Linked DNA regions of Homo sapiens: all the other regions are linked to region 3. Evidence: promoter capture Hi-C in human tissues and cell types (Jung and others, 2019). All regions are on one chromosome and are shown on one strand. Each heading gives the region's core, a stretch centred on a gene start or on the middle of the fragment in contact. The rest is flanking DNA. Distances are from core to core; before and after follow the strand shown.

Region 1 (3,186 bases), core at 115-2,614, 280 kb before region 3:
ATCGAATACAAGGCACTAATACTAGTTGCAAGGAATGAGTAAACATGTAATATTGCAGTAACTAACTGCCGTAGCCACATAAGTATTAAGGTAGATTCTTCATCTTAAGTTTCAGCATTGATAAAGAGTAGAAAGAAATAGAAAAGAAGAGAGAAAGCAAAAGAGAACTGGTAATAACAGTAAGAACATCTTTCTTGATGGGCATGTCTCAAGTTCTGAGCTCTTCCAAGAGATAAATTCAGGATAAGTCTTCAGACTTATTCTGTTTACAACTGAAGAACAAAAGAAAACTATCAATAGTCCATCTTTATGACAATAATTAAAAATAAATAGGTAGGGCTAACTCTAATACATGTTCTCAGAAGCTGTCAGGCAAATTTCATTAATGTGACCCTTCCAAAAAACATTTATCATCCCATTGAAATTGACTTACAGTCCATACAATGGAATACCTTATATGATCCTTGTGCCAATGATTTGTTTCTTGATTAAAAGAAATGTCATGTAAATGATTATATCTTAATTCCTTTGTATTTCTTAAATGGTCTTCTTTATATGTAGGATGACTAATATTCTATAACTGCAAAATATTAATATAAATAATTCTAACTTCCACATAAGATTGTCATGAGGATTAAATGAGCTACTGAGGATTATGAGCCAGGCATACAGTAGGCATTTGTTAAATAATAACTAATAGCTCCTATTATTATTTACAGGCATCAGTTACAATTTATAGACTTGAAAAATACTGTCAAGCTTAATTATAATGACTTAAATATAAAAATCAAATTTATTGTGCCCTGACTTACATACTCAATGTGGTCATAATTTTAAGACTTATGAATGTTTAACATATATTTCCATAAAGTACTACCAGGGTCTAATTACTTAGTATTAAGCTAAAGAGAGATTTTCTTATATAACTGATATTTCAGTGCAATCCTAAGTTTTAAAATTGCAGAGATATCTGGTTTTTATTCAAGTGCAATTAACTTGCTTTTAAAGATTTTTATGTTCTGGTATTTGGAATGCCAGATGAAGCACTCTGATACTGTGTCTCTAAGAAGCATAAAAATAACACAGAAATCACACAAATAATGTGAAAATTCAAAAACATAAAATTTCTCCCATTTTAAAACACACTACCATCCTCCCTAAATCCCACGTGTCCCATCTTGTCTTTCTTCTTTATTTTACTGCCAAACTTCTTTAAAGCGTGGTCTACATGGCTGATGCTCCTTACCCACTGTTCCCTTCATATTGCTGCTATAGGAAGTTACCACAGACTTAGTGGCGTAAACACTATGAATTTATTATTTTATAATTTTGTACACTCGAAGTCTGACATGGACATCACTGGACTAAAATCAAGGTGTCAGCAGGACTGCGTTTCTTCTGGGGCTCCAGGGAAAAATCTGTTTCCTGGCCTTTTCTAGCTTCTAGATACAGGCCACCCACATTCCTTGGCTTCTGGTCCCTTCCCTCATCCTAAAAGGCAGCTATGGCAGCTGAGTCACTTCTCACATTGCATCACCTGACCTTCTCTGTAGACACATCTCCCTCTCACCCTCCTCTCTCCTCCCTCCCTCCCTCTTCCTATTGTGTAAGGACCCTTGTGGTTACATTGGCCCCACACCAGATAATTCAGAATAATCTCTCAATTTTAGAGTCAGCTGATTAGTGGTCTTAATTTCATCTGTAATCTTAATTCTTCTTTACCATGTAGCTCAACATACTGACAGGTCCTGGGGGATTAGAATGTGGGCATCTCTGGGAGGACATTATTCAGTCTACCACAGCCTCTATTCATTCCTTAACATACTACAGTACAACTTCTACCTCCATGATAACACCATAACTTAAAGCTAAAAATAACCTCTTGTTACTAGAGTCAATGAATACTTTTCAGTCCTCATATTACTTAACTTTATGCCCTTTGCAAAGGGCAAAAAGGAAAAGAGTGTTTCAAAGGCAGCAAAATAGCACAAAAACTGCCTCTATGGATCAGCCCAAATTGAGCCCCTCAAAAATGGTTATGTTAACCCACTGAATTTTGGGTTAGTTATGCAGAAAAAGACAACTGATATATTAGCAACTTGTAGATCATGCTTATAACTTAAGTGTCTTGTTCAAGATCACACAGTTAATAACCAAAACAATCTTTTTATTTTAGCAGAATAATAGCCCTTTAATTTAGGTCACACATCTTTCATATTAGGAAAACAATTTATATTTCATTTCAATGACACATAATTTATGCAGATATTTAACAGTAGCAAGTAGATTTCACTTTGTTATTATGAAATAATATTTCCTTCTTGGATTCAGAATAGCAAGCCGTGTGTGTGTATGTGTGTTTGTATGTATATGGAAAGGCAGGTAGAGAATGGAGGAGAGAAAAATAGCCTTTAAACCAGTAAATTTGTTTCTTAAAACAGTAAATTAATTCTGAGAATTTGAACTGAAGATCTCTACAAAATTTCCAAGATTCTTAAGCAACTCATATCATTCTGACAATTAATACCTTATGGAATTAACGTTAGGGTAAAACAGCACGTGCTCTCCATCAAAATTCTGACTTTCTAAGTACATACTGTTGCACAGTTTCAGGCTGCTCGTCTTTGCACATCTGATTTGACTTAACGTTGAACTCAGAAATCTCTCCATTGTTCTGCAGTTCATACACTTTTATTAGCAGATGGAGAAAGTGAAATTCACAGAGACATTGGGTTACATAAGCTTTAAAGTATTACTAAAAACTACAGCCTAAATAGCCCATTTTCCATTTAAGATGCAAAAGGATAACCACAGAAAGGGCTAGCAAGCTTATTTTAAGGCTATGTCTTGCTCGTGCAATTGCATGGAAGTCAGCTTGTAGGAGGGGAAGTCGTAGAGTTAACAGAAATCCTACATCTCCTGCTTTCAAGGAAAGATTCTGTTCTGCTTTCACTCTCCAAACACCCAAACACCTACTTATTTCCAGTAATACTCTGGCTGACCTCTAGACATCTAAGCTTTCTATTTCAAATTCTCCTACTTAGAATTTCTCTCTCTCATATTTCTTCTTAAATGGTGGCACCTTCCAAAGAGCTGTTATTAATTCCCACATGCCCCCTATGATTCAGACCACTTCTCTCTTTTTTTCTCTCTCTCTCTGCACTGTTACTTGGTCTTCTTTTTATT
Region 2 (3,639 bases), core at 843-3,342, 260 kb after region 3:
AAATTTTTATTTTGTAGAGATGGGGGGTCTCACTTTGTTCCCCAGCCTTGCATTTATCAACTGTAAAACTGGCAGGTGGATATGGTAAAAATCATAATGGTGAAAAGTAGTACAAAGGGGCAGAGGGAGAGAGAGTATCAGGAAGAATAGCTAATGGATGCTGGGCTTAATACCTAGGTGATGGGTTGATCTGTGCAGCAAACCACCATGGCACACATTTACCTATGTAACAAACCTGCACACGTACCCGGGAATTTAAAATAAAAGTTGAAGAAAAAACAAAAGAAAGAAAAGTAGTATAATGATTTCACCACAAAGGGAGAGCATAAGCAAGGTATGAAATTATTATCCTTACTTCAAGTTAACAGACACAGCATACACTGAAAGAATTAAAAATAAAAACAAAATAATCTGAAATGGAAGATGGAACTTTGCAGGTATACGGCTATCATAAAAACTGAGAGAAATAAGGTAATCTATCTTCCTTAAAGAAAAGCATGGGCCAGGTGCGGTGTAATCCCAGCACTTTAGGCGGCCAAGTGGGAAAGATCACTTCACATCTGGAGATCGAGACCATTCTGGGCAATACAGTGAGAACCTTTGAAAAAATTCAAAAATTGGACCAGGCATGGTGGCTCATGCCTGAGCCCAGGAGTTCGAGACCAGCCTGGGCGACAAAGTAAGACCCACCCCCTTCCATCTCTTAAAAAAAAGAAAAAAAAAATTTTTTTTTAATTACCCAGGCACAGTGGTGTGCACCTGTAATCCCAGCTAGGTGGGAAGATCAACTGAGCCCAGAAGTTTGAGGTTACAGTGAGCTATGATCCTGCCACTGCACTACAGCATGGGCAACAGAGCTCTTAAAAATTAAAAAAAAAAAAAAAAGAAAAGAAAAGAAAAGAAAAAGAGCAGGGTGCGGTGGCTCACCTGAGGTCAGGAGTTCGAGATCGGCCTGGCCAACATGGTGAAACCTCGTCTCTACTAAAAACACAGAAATTCACCAGGCGTGGTGGCAGGCACCTGTAATGTCAGCTACTCGTAAGGCTGAGGCGGGAGAATCGCTTGAACCCGGGAAGCGGAGGTTGCAGTGAGCCGAGATTGTGCCATTGCACTCCGGCCTAAGTGACAAGAGCGAAACACTGACTCAAAAAAAAAAAAAGAAAACAAAAAACAAAAGGGACGTGTTCTTACAACCTATTTTGCCAGCAGAAACCTACTGGATAAAGATGCAATCCAAGAAATGGGCCCAGAAGCTTAGTGGGACATCCCTTTTCCTCTAAAGCAAGGTAGGTTGAGTGCCAAGTTACTCGGTTTTGGAAGGGAAGGCATACAGTACTTACCATGACAGATCTGCTCTGTAACATGAAGGCCACAAGTACTTCCATTTAGAAATTCTCTTCTGTGATTTTTAGACGAGCATATAAGCTCCCCTAACAAGAACTGAGCCTACAGTTGAGATAGCATTATTATAGCTTCCCCGTCCACAAATATAGACCCAATAATGAGAGAATTTTAAAACTACCCAGCCTTTCTATACCCATGCTAACACTATATACATTATAAAATTCCCAAACGCTTTGTCATTACTAAGTAGTGTGTACAGTTTAAAATGAATTGCCTGAATTTGAATCCCAACTCATACCATCTTAATAGATGAATGACTTTGGACATGTTGTCATCCTTTCTGAGAGAACTTATTAAAAAAAAGAAACGCGGCCGGGTGTGGTGGCTCACGCCTGTAATCCCAGCACTTTGGGAGGCTGAGGAGGGCGGATCACCTGATGTCAGCAGTTCAAGACCAGCCTGGCCAACATGGTGAAACCGTGTCCCTACTAAAAACACAAAAATTAGCCATGCATGATGGCAGACGCCTGTAATCCCAGGCTTGAGGCTTGAAGCATGAGAATCCCTTGAACCTGGAAGGTGGAGGTTGCAGTGAGCCAAGATGATGCTACTGCACTCCAGCCAGGATGACAGAGATTCTGCCTAAAAAAAAAAAAAAAACACACACCATTTATTTCACAGGTATGCAAAAGCCCCTATCACACTATCTCTAGCACTGACCACCAAATTAGCTGATAGCCTATTTCTAAGGTGGATGATTAACACATCACAAAAACTTAATTTTACAGACAATAAATACTTGAAAAGTGTTAAGAATCAAATATTTATTTTGTTCTAAAGAAATAATCTGAAAATCAAAAGTTTTTTTGGGGAAAAGCTACAAGTAATTTAGAAAAGAAAAACTTCAACACAATAATGACTAGGTCTAGCCCAAGTATGGAAAAGCGCAATAATTTTAAGTTTCTATTGGACAAATGACTCAATTTATGGAAAATCAGAAATACTTTCCATTTTGCTCATGACAACAAAAAGAAAATATCAATTATCCTATGATGGAGAATGGAGCAAGCACACAATAATGGCTGACCCCAACTGGCAGTCAACACAAAAACATCCATGTAAAGCTTGTAGATAAACTATAATTGAAATTTTTTTTTTTTTTGAGACGGAGTCTCGCTTTGTCACCCAGACTGGAGTGCAGTGGTGCTGATCTTGGCTCACTGCAAGCTCCGCCTCCTGTGTTCACACCATTCTCCTGCCTCAGCCTCCTGAGCAGCTGGGACTACAGGCGCCCGCCACCACACCTGGCTACATTTTTGTATGTTTTTAGTAGAGACAGGGTTTCACCATATTAGCCAGGATGGTCTCGATCTCCTGACCTTGTGATCTGCCCGCCTTGGCCTCCCTAAGTGATGGGATTACAGGCATGAGCCATTGTGCCCGGCCGAAAATATCTTTAGGCTAAAAGTAATTTTCATTTTCTTTGAAATAAACCTTCAGGCTAATAAAGCAGCAAATGCAAGTAGACAGTAACATGGGAGTTTAATATGGTTAATAGCACTAAATCAGACACTGTTGTAAGAATTACGTAAGTCAATATAAGTAAACTGCTAAAAGAGTTTGGCACATAGTAGGTAGTCAGTAAATTTTGACTTATTATCCCTATTTAGATGTGACAAGAAATGTTAATCATCGACTAAAGATTACTGACAGTATTTCACAAGTATCCTGGAATTTTTTCTAAGTCCATGGTGTGTGTGTATGTGTGTTTGTGTGTGACAGGGTCTCCCTCTGTCACCCAGTGCAGTGGCATGATCACAGCTCACTGCAGCCTCCACCTCCTAGGCTCAAGTGACCCTCCCACCTCAGCCTCCAGAGCAGATAGGACTACAGGCCCGTGCCACCGCACCAGCTAATGTTTGTATGTTTTGTAGAGATGGGGTTTCGCCATGTTGCCCAGGCTGGTCTTGAACTCCCGAGCCCACACAATCCGTCGGCCTGGGCATCCCAAAATGCTGGGATTATAGGCGTGAGCCACCGCACCCAGCCTAAGTCCATTCTTTGCATTCAGTTTTCCTTACAGCCTAAATTTACAAGGGCACATCAGTAATTTAGTTAAGCTCTCCCTGCTAGATAAAAATTAAAGTCATTTTGTTTTAGTCATTTAACCTCCAACCTGCAAAATGGAGGAAGAGAGATTTGTGGCTATTTCCAAAATGGTAAAAATATAAATGGAGGTTCGGCGCAGTGGCTCACGCCTGTAATCCTAGCACTTTGGGAGGCCGAGGCGGGTGG
Region 3 (3,229 bases), core at 576-3,075:
TCTACCTCATCTCCACAGGAACCTTCCTCCTCAAAAATCAAAGAACACAGTGGATGCGAAAATATTCCATAAATGGAAAAACGTAGATGTAGAGAAGAACTAAGCCACATCTGTCGAGGGCCCTGCACTTGCCAGGCAAGTTTCTGAATGTCTGTTCTCTCTTTCAACACCACTCTCATCAGCTCCCACTTTACAGATAAAGAAACTGAGGCTCAGAGAGATGAACCAACCTGCTGAAGTCTCTGCAGTTGAGATGCGGCAGGCCAGGTCTGGAACTCGGACTGGTCCATACTTTCCTTCATGCTGTGCTGACTATCATGATCATCCCAGAACCACCACCCTCAAGCCCCCAGCTCAGCCAAGCTCCAGTCCTCACAGATGCTGCAGCAATGGCCACCAGGCTTGGTCCTGGCCTGGCCCCTTCACCTGGACTATGCTTTAGCAGGTCAACCATGTTTTCAACGCCCACTGAGGAAAACCAGCCACGTGGCCAGTCCGTAGTTTGGGAAGGCATTGGAGAAAAGAATCAAAATAACACTTTATTACCCAGCTAAAAAATTGAGAAAAACTATAGAGTGACTCAACGCCTGAAAGCAAATCTTTAGCAAATGCAAATCAGCATAGAGGTCTCTGAGGACTTTAATGACCAAGAGAAATTAAGCTCCCAACAGGAAGGAAAGGCCTCTCTGACTAAGCTAGGAGTCTCTTGCATGTCCCAAGTCAGAAGGCGGAGGTGCCTAAATGCTGGATTCCAGCTGGCACATAAATAGTGATCTAACTCGCCCCCCCTTTCGTGCAGCACACACCGGCACGCACACAGACAGTTACTCATGGTGCCAGGGCTGCTCACGGAACCCCAAACCCACAAGAGCTGGGGAGTTTCCCCAGGGCCCAGCTTCCTTTTCCTTCAGTTGGCCAAACCTCTGCATGCTTTAAGCAAGGCTGTTTCATTTTCTGAAAGTGCTTTATTTTTCCCTCTGAGGAGAGGGGAAACATCAGGATGCATTTTTCCTTAGTCCCCATTTTCCCCCCAGATCGCCTCACTCCAGCAACAACGTGGACCATAGCATCTCACTTCTAGAACCCTTGTCACTGTTTCAAAGGTCAGTCCCATCTGGGCCCACGAAGTCCCTGTGAGTCAGGTGGGCTGGCATTGCTAAGCCATTTCTCAGAACCTGAAGCCCAGAGAGGCTAATGCAGGGAGGCTCAAACTCACACAGTCAGTTGGGGTGGATCTGAATCCAGAACCCACGTGTCTAGGCACCAACTTGCTGCCTTTGAGCTTTTTGGATCACAAGCAATAGCAAGAAATACACCTGACATCGCGACCCAGAACACAGACACACACACACACACACACACACACACACACACACACATCTGTACAAAGCAACAAACTTCCCCAAAGCAATACTTACCCTACTTCTTGCCACGCACTCTGATCATTTCTATTCTATTTCAATTTTTTAAATGCAGGTCATGAGCTATGAAGTTGATTTACTGACCCATGAATGGGTCACAACCCGCAGTTTGGAAACAGCTGGATGGACCCCCACCTGTGCTTTCCAGCTTCTCCTAGAGCCTCAGGGCCCCAGGAAGGCAGTGTGGTCTCTGCAACCAGGTGAGGAGCAGGCAGCTGCTGAAATCAGGATGGAGGGAGTCCTCTGAGGGGGGACTCTGAAACGAGTCCTCTCTGACTCTGCCTGCCCCAGCTAGGCTCTGCCTTCAAACCTCAAACAGCTGGGCTTCCTGCAGAGGCTCTGCAGGAGCCTGGGCACCCTTGCAGCCACGATCCCAGCTCTCCCTCCAGCGACTTCCCGCAGCCTGAACCTCCCAGCTCCGGCTAGAAAATCCCCAGCTGGAGGCTGCCCATTCCCGAGCTGAGGCAGAATCATGTGAACTCCAATCTGGTGTCAGGCTGGGCGGTTGCCGAGGAACCACTCGCCAGCCAGAGGCTGAGGGCGGCGGAATGGCTCTCTCCACGCATCTTCCTCTGCTCTCCATGCAACCCAGAGTCAGTGAGCAGCCTCGCTGGGAATGTGAAAGCCTGAGCTAGGGGCAGGTGCCCTCAGGACTGTGGTGGGGGGATACAGGAGGAGGGGGTGGGCTAATTCTAGCCACCTTTCAGCACCTACAGGATACCGGGATCCAGGCAAGGGTGGGGGAAGCCGCCAACATCTGGGTCACTGGGGCTCAACCCTGGCCATGTGCATGAGAACATACCTGGGAGCCTACAAAAAAAATACCAATGCCCGGGCCCCACCCGGGGCTGGTTAAATCATGTTTCCTGGAAGTGACGTGCCAGCATCAGTGGCTCTAAAGCTCCCTGGACTGTTCTAAAGTGCAGTGAAGGTGGGCAGCCACGGATGTGGTGAAGCAGGTAGGATCCTGTTTGGCAGAGCAGCAGAGCGAAGGCAGTGGAGCTAAGGCTCTGGGCATCAGTAAGGATAGGGCGGGCATCAATGTTTTCAACTGTGTCGGTCCCCAGAGAAGGAATCAAGCCCAGGGCTCTGGCCCCGGGGGCCCTTCTGGCTCTCAGGAGCACTTACTAAACTCCCTCCCTCACACACATAACACGGAGGATGGAAAGGCCCAGCATTTTGGCGTAACCACCTCCCTCCAAGGCAGACTCCTTGGAAGCTGATTATAAGCTACGTTGCCAGAGCCAGGAAGCCAACAGATACGGTGCATGGGGCCACTGGGGGTGCGAGTCCTTCCTGCTGGAAGTGGCCAGAGCCCTGTGCTTGGTCCCTGCTCTGGGGACCAACACAGTTTAAAACACTGATGCCCATCTTATTCATGCCAAGAGCCTTGGCTCCACTGCCCTCACTCTGTTGGTAGGGGGTCTAAGGAAATCCCCTTCAGTGGGGCCTGGGCCCTCCAAGCAAATGCTACCACATAGCAGGCCTTTTAAAAACTATTTCCGGCCAGGTGCGGTGGCTCACGCCTGGAATCCTAGCACTTTGGGAAGCCGAGGCGGGTGGATCACCTGAGGTCAGGAGTTGGAGACCGGCCTGGTCAACATGGTGAAACCCCATCTCTATTAAAAATACAAAAATTTGCTGGGGGTGGTGGCGCATGCCTGTAATCCTAGCTACTCGGGAAGCTGAGGCAGGAGAATCACTTGAACCTGGGAGGCAGAGGTTGCGGTGAGCTGAGATCATGCCATTGCACTCCAGACTGGGCGACAAAAGCGAAACTCCGTCTCAAAAAAAAAAAAGTTTCCTAC

Evidence for each region. The method cuts DNA at HindIII sites, captures the fragments that hold promoters and counts their contacts. A contact is called where the count stands out against the background at its distance.
Region 1: a fragment that was not itself captured here is called in contact with the fragment with the promoter of GPR68 in region 3 in 2 of the 25 tissues and cell types used here (bladder and hippocampus).
Region 2: a contact is called between a fragment that was not itself captured here and the fragment with the promoter of GPR68 in region 3, in 1 of the 25 tissues and cell types used here (spleen).

What each region holds. Positions count from the first base shown.
Region 1 is chr14:90,966,715-90,969,900 of GRCh38, forward strand. The region is part of intron 3 of RPS6KA5 (ribosomal protein S6 kinase A5); the gene reads right to left. Among named protein-coding and RNA genes, the nearest start is that of RPS6KA5, 92 kb to the right of the region's middle. The HindIII fragment of the contact is 3,115 bases long and covers 1-2,922 here.
Region 2 is chr14:91,503,457-91,507,095 of GRCh38, forward strand. The region is part of intron 1 of PPP4R3A (protein phosphatase 4 regulatory subunit 3A); the gene reads right to left. Among named protein-coding and RNA genes, the nearest start is that of PPP4R3A, 5.0 kb to the right of the region's middle. The HindIII fragment of the contact is 3,818 bases long and covers 184-3,639 here.
Region 3 is chr14:91,242,879-91,246,107 of GRCh38, forward strand. It overlaps GPR68 (G protein-coupled receptor 68), which reads right to left and starts at 1,826. Exons shown (of 2, transcript NM_001177676.2): 1 at 1,419-1,826. RefSeq lists enhancers at 354-463, 1,523-2,024, 1,544-1,593. The HindIII fragment of the contact is 47,768 bases long and covers 1-3,229 here.